Regions from separate parts of the Homo sapiens genome. Here region 2 is linked to region 1. Evidence: promoter capture Hi-C in 16 types of primary human blood cells and fetal thymus (Javierre and others, 2016). All regions are on one chromosome and are shown on one strand. Each heading gives the region's core, a stretch centred on a gene start or on the middle of the fragment in contact. The rest is flanking DNA. Distances are from core to core; before and after follow the strand shown.

Region 1 (4,279 bases), core at 1,236-3,735:
TCTCGTGATATAAAAACTAAGTAGGCCAGGCACGGTAGCTCCGCCCGTAATCCCAGCACTTCGGGTGGCCGACGCGGGCAGATCAGCTGAGATCAGGAGTTTGAGAACAGCCTGACCAACATGGAGAAACCCCGTCTCTACTAAAAATACAAAAATTAGCAGTGCGTGGTGTCGCATGCCTGTAGTCCCAGCTACTCGGGAGGCTGAGGCAGGAGAATCGCTTGAACCCGGGAGGCAGAGGTTGCGGTGAGCCGAGATCGCGCCATTGCACTCCAGCCTGGGCAACAAAAGCAAAACTCCATCTCAAAAAAAAAGACAAAAAAACCAACAACTAAGTAAAGTCTGAGCGCAGCAGCTCACACCAGTAATCCCAGCACTTTGGGGAGGCCAAAGCTGGCGGATCACAAGGTCTGGAGATCAAGACCTTCCTGGCCAACATGGTGAACCCCGTCTCTACTAAAAATACAAAAATTAGCTGGGCATGGTGATGCACGCCTGTAGTCCCAGCTACTCAGGAGGCTGAGGCAGGAGAAACACTTGAACCCAGGAGGCAGAGGTTGCAGTGAGCTGAGATTGTGCCACTACACTCCAGCCTGGCGACAGAGAGAGACTCCACCTCAAAAAAAAAAAAAAAAATTAGCCAGGCATGGTGGCATGTGCCTGTAGTCCCAGCTACTCAGGAGGCTGAGACAGGAGAACTGCTTGAACCTAGGAAGGGGAGGTTGCAGTGAGCTGAGATCGCACCACTGCACTCCAGCCTGTGTGACAGAGAGAGACTCTGTCTCAAAACAAACCAACCAACCAACAAACAAAAACTAAGTAAAATATATTGAGACGTGAAAATGGAACCGCTAAACTAACATGAAACAATTTAATCTAGCATAGTTTTTTTATTTTTTTGAGATGGAGTCTTACTCTGTCGCCCAGGCTGGAGTGCAGTGGCGCGATCTTGGCTCACCGCAACCTCTGCCTCCAGGGTTCAAGCGATTCTCCTGCCTCAGCCTCCTGAGTAGCTGGAGGCATGCGCCACCACGCCCGGCTAATTTTTGTATTTGTAGTAGAGACGGGGTTTTACCATGTTGGTCAGGCTGGTCTCCTACTTCTGATCTTGTGATCTGCCCGCCTCGGCCTCCCAAAGTGCTGGGATTACAGGCGTGAGCTGCTGTGTCTGGCCCAAAGAATTTTTTAGAAAGCAAATTTTCCCATATTTCTCACCACAGGTACAAGTTCAATTCCATGTGTCAATCAATTAGAAAGAGGCTATTTACTTAGGTATTGGATTCCTGCTCCTAAACCCAATTAGTCAAATATTCTTCAGACATCCATGTAGATATTTATAGTAGAGAGCAAATGTAATTATCCTTCCATAGAGAAGTTCCTAAATAGTAATGTTTCTTAGCAACAGTGGGCATTACTGACCCTCACAAAAGCAGAGCATGAGAAAGGCAAGCAAAGTGTTTGATTCTGGATTAAGTGCTCAGAAAGCATCCATCTGAGGTCCCATACATTCAGTTCTTGTCCCCAGGGCAACATATGTTTGGCGTCTTCTCTTTTATAGGAGCTTTTGTATCAAACTCATTACATTCAAAGTCTATCCATATTTTTTCTTTTAAAAAAATTTAGTTATGAAAATAACTGAAAACCATAATAGTATAAAAAGGCATACATTGAAAAATGATTGAATCTCTCCTCTGCAAACCTTGGTCTCTCTTCCTGGATTTAACATTATCATCGGTTTCTGGAATTTTACATTAATACGTGTGCATATCTGTATATACATTATAGGTCCTGTGTTTGTTTGTGTATGTGTGTCTAGAAGAGTATTTATTTCATTTTTGCTTTGACTATAAACATTAGATATTTTTAGCTTTTATGTAAAAATGCCATTTAAAATCCATTTCCATATTCTGGACAATATCTGTTTTCCTGTTAAGATGATTTTTAAACAATTTGTTTTTATTTTAGCAACTTGGTAAGGCCTCAATTGAGATGAGATCAGATTGTGATGCAAGCTTTTCCCCGGATGGCCAGTGATTTTCCTTTTACTCTGTAGTTTTATTCTCCCTCAGGTGCTGATGAGAGCCTAACAAAAGATCTGGCAGCCTCCTTGTATAAGATGAGACCACCTCCAACTTTTTTAGGGATACTCTTCCCAGTTTTCACTGGCTGGTCACACTTTCCAACAAGATGTATCCTGGAGCACGCGAAGAGCACCTTTTTGTTGTTTTAATTTAACAATGAACAGATATTTCCATTCTACCATATTCATATAGATGGATCTCACTCTTCTTAACAATTATATCTATTTTGCTTAGAAAGGCTTTTCCCATTCTAAAATTATAAAAATGTTGTCCATGGCCGGGCGTGGTGGCTTACACCTATAATCTCAGCACTTTGGGAGGCTGAGGTAGGTGGATATGAGGTCAAGAGTTTGAGACCATCCTGGCTAACATGGTGAAACCTTGTCTCTACTAAAAATATAAAATTTAGCTGGGCGTGGTGGTGTGTGCCTATAGTCCCAGCTACTTGGGAGGCTGAGGCAGGAGAATCGCTTGAACCCGGGAGGCAGAGGCTGCAGTGAGCCAAGATCACGCCACTGCACTTCAGCCTGGGTGACAGAGCGAAACTCCATCTCAAAAAAAAAAAAATGTTGTCCATGTTTTCTTCTAGTTCTTTTTATAATTTATCACCAGACTTAACATATGAGGTAAAGTAGTATACAAGAGGCTTTGGTAATTAACTTTATTACTGTGGTCCTTAGTGTCCTCAGCTGAAGAACAGGAAGAGTTAGATTAGATGGCCACAGTGACCCTTCTGGCTGGGCAGGCTGACTGGGAAAATATTTAATGACCTCATCTGTGAAGGCACCAATTACATAACAACACAGACAGCACTTTCACACAGTATCTTTACTTCCCTATTCCCTGATGAGCACATGAGTAGAGACTGAAAGCTTGCAGAATGCACTGAGGTGGAGTTCAATGCTCTAGAATAGCTGGACTGGACCTGGCCATATGCTAGAGGATTTGTCTGGTTCCTCTCTCAATGATTAATTTTCTGCTCATCATCATTTCCTACCAAGAAAGAGAATTATTCTGGATAGGCTACTTGTGCTCATTTTCAAGAATGACCTGTCCTAATTCATGTGATACTGCTGTGTCTGTTACTGAGTCTTTTTTCTTTCTTTTTCTTTTTTGAGACAGAGTTTCGCTCTTGTTGCCCAGGCTGGAGTGCTATGGCGCAATCTCAGCTCACTGAAACCTCTGCCTCCCAGGTTCAAGTGATTCTCCTGCCTCCCAAGTAGCTAGGATTAAAGGCCTGCACCAGCACGCCTGGCTAATTTTGTATTTTTTTTTTAGTAGAGATGGGTTTTCACCATATTGGTCAGGCTGGTCTCAAACTCCTGACCTCAAGTGATCCACCCACCTCGGCCTCCCAAAGTGCTGGGATTACAAGTGTGAGTCACTGTGCCTGGGCTTTTGTTTTGTTTTGTTTTGTTTTGTTTTTGAGAGAGTCTGGTTCTATCGCCCAGGCTGGAGTGCAGTGGCAGGATCTCGGCTCACTGCAACCTCCCCATCCTGGGTTCACGTCATTCTGCCTCAGCCTCCTGAGTAGCTGGGACTACAGGTGCCCGCCACCACGCCCAGCTAATTTTTTGTATTTTTAGTAGACATGGGGTTTCACCGTGTTAGCCAAGATGGTCTTGATCTCCTGACCCCGTGATCTGCCCGCCTTGGCCTCCCAAAGTGCTGGGATTACAGGCGTGAGCCACCACACCTGGCCTTTTTTTTTTTTTTTTGAGATGGAGTCTCACTCTATCGTCCAGGCTGGAGTGCAGTGGCGCCATCTCGGCTCACTACAACCTCCACCTCCCAGGTTCAAACGATTCTCCTGTCTCAGCCTCCCAAGTAGCTGGAATTACAGGCTCCAGCCATCACGCATGGCTAATTTATGTATTTTTAGTAGAGACGGGTTTTCACCATGTTGGACAGACTGGTCTCAAACTCTTGACCTCAAGTGATTCACCTGCCTTGGCCTCCCAAAGTGCTGGAATTACAGACATGAACCACCACGCCCACCCTTGAATCTATTTTTTTTTTTCATTTTATTTATTTAGTTTTAGTTTTAGTGTTTAGAGACAGGGTCTTGCTCTAGCTCCCAGGCTGGAGTGCAGTGGCACCATCTTGGCTCACAGCAGCTTCGACGTCCCAGACTCAAGCGATCCTCCCACCTCACCCTCCCTAGTACCTGGGACTACAGGCATATGTCCCATGCCCTG
Region 2 (3,797 bases), core at 1,186-3,685, 170 kb before region 1:
GCAGATCAGACCTGATGGTCTTTTGTATTTCAGGTGGATGGCTGTTATGACCTGAACTTGCTCTCCTACACTTGAATGGTTGCTCCTAGCCAAGATGTTGGCCTTTCTGTGCCCACCCAGACTTGGTTTGGGCCACCAGAGGCTGAAGTGTATTTCCTGTGCATTCCAAGTGTTGCCTGCATGCCTGTTCTGTCTGGGCCACATTCACAGATTCAGGATTCTCAGGGGCTTACCGTGTTACTTCAGCATGAGCTCCTGGCATGGGGGTGCTCTGTCTTCGCCTGGCTGCAACTCAATTCTTCCTTCTACCCAAAAACACTCCAGTCAGTTGTACTTACTGAGAATCCCTGAGTGCCCTCTGCCCCTTCTGGCAACATGCACATTCCTGTCTTCTGCCTGCTCCCTCATGTCAGTGCAGTTGGGCTGGGCTGACCTACTAAAACCTGCTCCATGTATGGACCTGGAAGGCCATTGCTGCCATGGCACTTGGGACACTTGAGGAAGAAACAGAAACCTTATTTCTTCCTGTGTGTCCCCTAGTGGTTTTCTTTCCATTTGTGTTATGCCACAGAGAGAAATTTCCTGTCTGAACTCTTCTGCTGCCTGCCTAGGAAGGAAACCTGAAGATTTGGGCAGCCTGAGTCTCTTGGTTTCTGAGCTGGCTCCTGAATATATGTTCAAGTGGGTGTGCCCATAGGGCCTGGGCACGTGTCTCTAGCAAAACCAGGGCCTGAGCATAAGAACTGGGACCCTTCTAGGCAGGGTGCAGTGGCTCACGCCTGTAATCCCAGCACTTTGGGAGGCCCAGGCAGGCGGATCACCTGAGGTCAGGAGTTCAAGACCAGCCTGACCAACCTGGAGAAACCCCGTCTCTACTAAAAATACAAAAAATTAGCTGGGCGTGGTGGTAGGCACCTGTAATCCCAGCTACTTGGGAGGCTGAGGCAGGAGAATCTCTTGAACCCGGGAAGTGGAGGTTGCGGACCTGAGATCATGCCATTGCACTCCAGCCTGGGCAAGAAGAGCGAAACTCCATCTTAAACAAACAAACAAAAAAAAAAGAACTGGGACCCTTCTGCCATCTGACATAGCCCAAAGCACATCTCTATCCTTTCTCCCAGTTGCCCCTCTCCTTTTTTGTTGTTTTTTTTGAGGTTGAGTTTTGCTCTTGTTGCCCAGGCTGGAGTGCAATAGTGCAATCTTGGCTAACTGCAACCTCCGCCTCCCAGGTTCAAGCAATTCTCCTGCCTCAGTCTCCCGAGTAGCTGGGATTACAGTCATGCATCACCATGCCTGGCTAATTTTGTATTTGTAGTAGAGATGGGGTTTCTCCATGTTGGTCAGGCTGGTCTCAAACACCTGACCTCAGGTGATCTGCCTGCCTTGGCCTTCCAAAGTGCTGGGATTACAGGCATGAGCCACCGCGCCCGCCCTGCCCCTTTCCAAGAGATATGCTCAGCATAATGAGAGATCAACCGTGGTGGGGAGTGGGTCCAAGTAAGGGTTCTCATTGTTGCCTTTTAAGAGGCCTAAGTCCTGCATTAACTCAGTCCAACCATTAAGTGATGCAGGCTGCTCTTCCCTCATGTGAGAAAAACCTGTTTCCCTCTGGTTCTTCCTGGCTTTGCACCTGGTGGCTATTACAAAGCAGTACTGCAGTATGTCTTGGACCTGGAAAGTTGGACATGTGTGTGGCTCAACAGTTTTCTCGGGGGAGTTCAGTGACCTTTTGGTGGCCACCCTCTGTTCTCACCTGTGAGTTCTTGCAGGTGGCGACTTCATCTGCAAGGTCACTTACATAGCCCCACTCAGCTGCTTCGGAAAGCGTGACGAAGCAGTAGTCCTCAGTGTGTGTGTAAGTGAAGAGGACCTTGTGGTAGCAGGGACCATGCTTCATTCGTGGCTGTGTCCCCATCTGAGGGCCTGGTATGCAGTAAGATCAATAAATACTTGTGGAATGCATGACTGCTGGCTGCCTGTGTCTGCCTGGTGGGAGAGCTGTGGAACTAGGGGTCCACATGAGGACAGACTACTGTGGTGCTGCCTACCTGCCAGGCTGGCCCACCTTCCCCACCCCCACTTGACCTTACTCTCTTGAGGTCCTAAAGGTATGATTCAGACCTTTCAGCCCTTTCCAGAACTTTGACCCTCTGGAGACAGGGCGGTTCTGCAGGGGGCGGTCTAGCCCCTAGCTTTGTTCTGGGCAGCCCAATCAGCTCTGGATTGCCCGAGCTGCCCTGAAGAGTCAGCCGAAAGAGCTGGAGGCTTCTTCCCTGTGGTTGCGGGTTCCTGCATTCTCTGCTCTAAATCCCAGCCTGCCCTTGGGGCTGCCCACGCCCCCTTCAGATCCTTTGCTCCGGAGAGAGACCTGTCCGAGCAGAGGCCTGGACTACATCTCCCGGCGTGCCTGGCAGTGTGGTGGCCTCTGTGCGCCGTCTGCACTCGTTGCAGGCGACGATGCAGAGGGCTGTAAGTGTGGTGGCCCGTCTGGGCTTTCGCCTGCAGGCATTCCCCCCGGCCTTGTGTCGTCCACTTAGTTGCGCACAGGTGGGATAGAGGGTGCTGATCTTGGAGGGTGGGGGAGGGAAGCGGCTGGGGGCTAGGGCCCTGGTGGCACTAAGCCCAGCCGCCCACAGGAGGTGCTCCGCAGGACACCGCTCTATGACTTCCACCTGGCCCACGGCGGGAAAATGGTGGCGTTTGCGGGTTGGAGTCTGCCAGTGCAGTACCGGGACAGTCACACTGACTCGCACCTGCACACACGCCAGCACTGCTCGCTCTTTGACGTGTCTCATATGCTGCAGGTGAGCCAGGGGAGCACACTGGCCATCTGATCAGGCCTTCCTCCCTGTTTACAGTGGTCCACTCCTTGGCTTTGTTTGCTGTGAACTGGATTCCAAGGACAGCCTTCTCAGAAGAGCTAGAGGTCATGGGGGTGTCATGGATAGGTCAATGGCCCCAAGGAAATGAGCTCAGAGGGTCTCATCATCTCATCCTTCTAGCTTGCCCCCATTAAATGGTGTGCCTTAATGTCCCGGGTTTTCCAGGGCTGACACCCACTCTCATGTATTGGGCTGGATGTTGGTTTGAAAAGGGGTTATTTCAGGAAGGTGCTAGGTCCTGTCCAGTTCCCTGGCAGTCCCCCCACACAGAGTGACTGGGGGAGGTCAGGAAATCAGAAGGTGGTCCTTTGCCACGTGTAGAACCAAAAGACTGGTTAGTCACTTTGGGTGGGCTGGACTGCACTGTGGATGGCAGGGAGGATGCATCCTTGCTTAGTAGCCTTTTGGATTGTAGCTGTTGCAATGGCCTGAGGCTTTCAATCTCTTCCCCAGACCAAGATACTTGGTAGTGACCGGGTGAAGCTGATGGAGAGTCTAGTGGTTGGAGACATTGCAGAGCTAAGACCAAACCAGGTGGGCCCTTTTATTTCTGCTCTATGAGTTTTCTTAGTCATGAGCCAGCAAATGGGCTGAGTCCCTACCTCAGGCTTAGGGGCACAGAGATGAGTCAAACACAGCTTCTCAGGGCTTGCAGTCTTGGACAGAATCCCTGAGTCATTTCCAGAGACACAGACATTTGTAGGGAGGGGAATATCCCAGTCTTACTACATCAGGCTAGGAGGCCAGAAACCAAGGTTAATATGCTGCTCTCTGGCCATCCCTTCTGCTTAACCCCTCTCTATTCAACATGTGGTCCCTGGCCAGGCGACGTGACTCAAACACCTGTAATCCTGGCACTTGGGGAGGCCAAGGCGGGTGGATCACCTGAGGTCAGGAGTTCGAGACCAGCCTGGC

What was found. The method cuts DNA at HindIII sites, captures the fragments that hold promoters and counts their contacts. A CHiCAGO score of 5 or more calls a contact.
Region 2: a contact is called between the fragment with the promoter of AMT here and a fragment that was not itself captured in region 1, in 3 of 17 cell types (M0 macrophages, M1 macrophages and M2 macrophages). The highest score is 6.9, in M0 macrophages.

The regions. Positions count from the first base shown.
Region 1 is chr3:49,247,645-49,251,923 of GRCh38, reverse strand. The region is part of intron 6 of IHO1 (interactor of HORMAD1 1); the gene reads right to left. Among named protein-coding and RNA genes, the nearest start is that of MIR4271, 24 kb to the left of the region's middle. RefSeq lists an enhancer at 2,757-2,806. The HindIII fragment of the contact is 941 bases long and covers 2,015-2,955 here.
Region 2 is chr3:49,421,111-49,424,907 of GRCh38, reverse strand. AMT (aminomethyltransferase) reads left to right here and starts at 2,435. Exons shown (of 9, transcript NM_000481.4): 1 at 2,435-2,547; 2 at 2,637-2,804; 3 at 3,336-3,416. The coding sequence starts at 2,458. It overlaps NICN1 (nicolin 1, tubulin polyglutamylase complex subunit), which reads left to right. Exons shown (of 6, transcript NM_032316.3): 6 at 34-2,575. The coding sequence ends at 75. RefSeq lists enhancers at 2,054-2,807, 2,808-3,560. The HindIII fragment of the contact is 5,136 bases long and covers 1-3,797 here.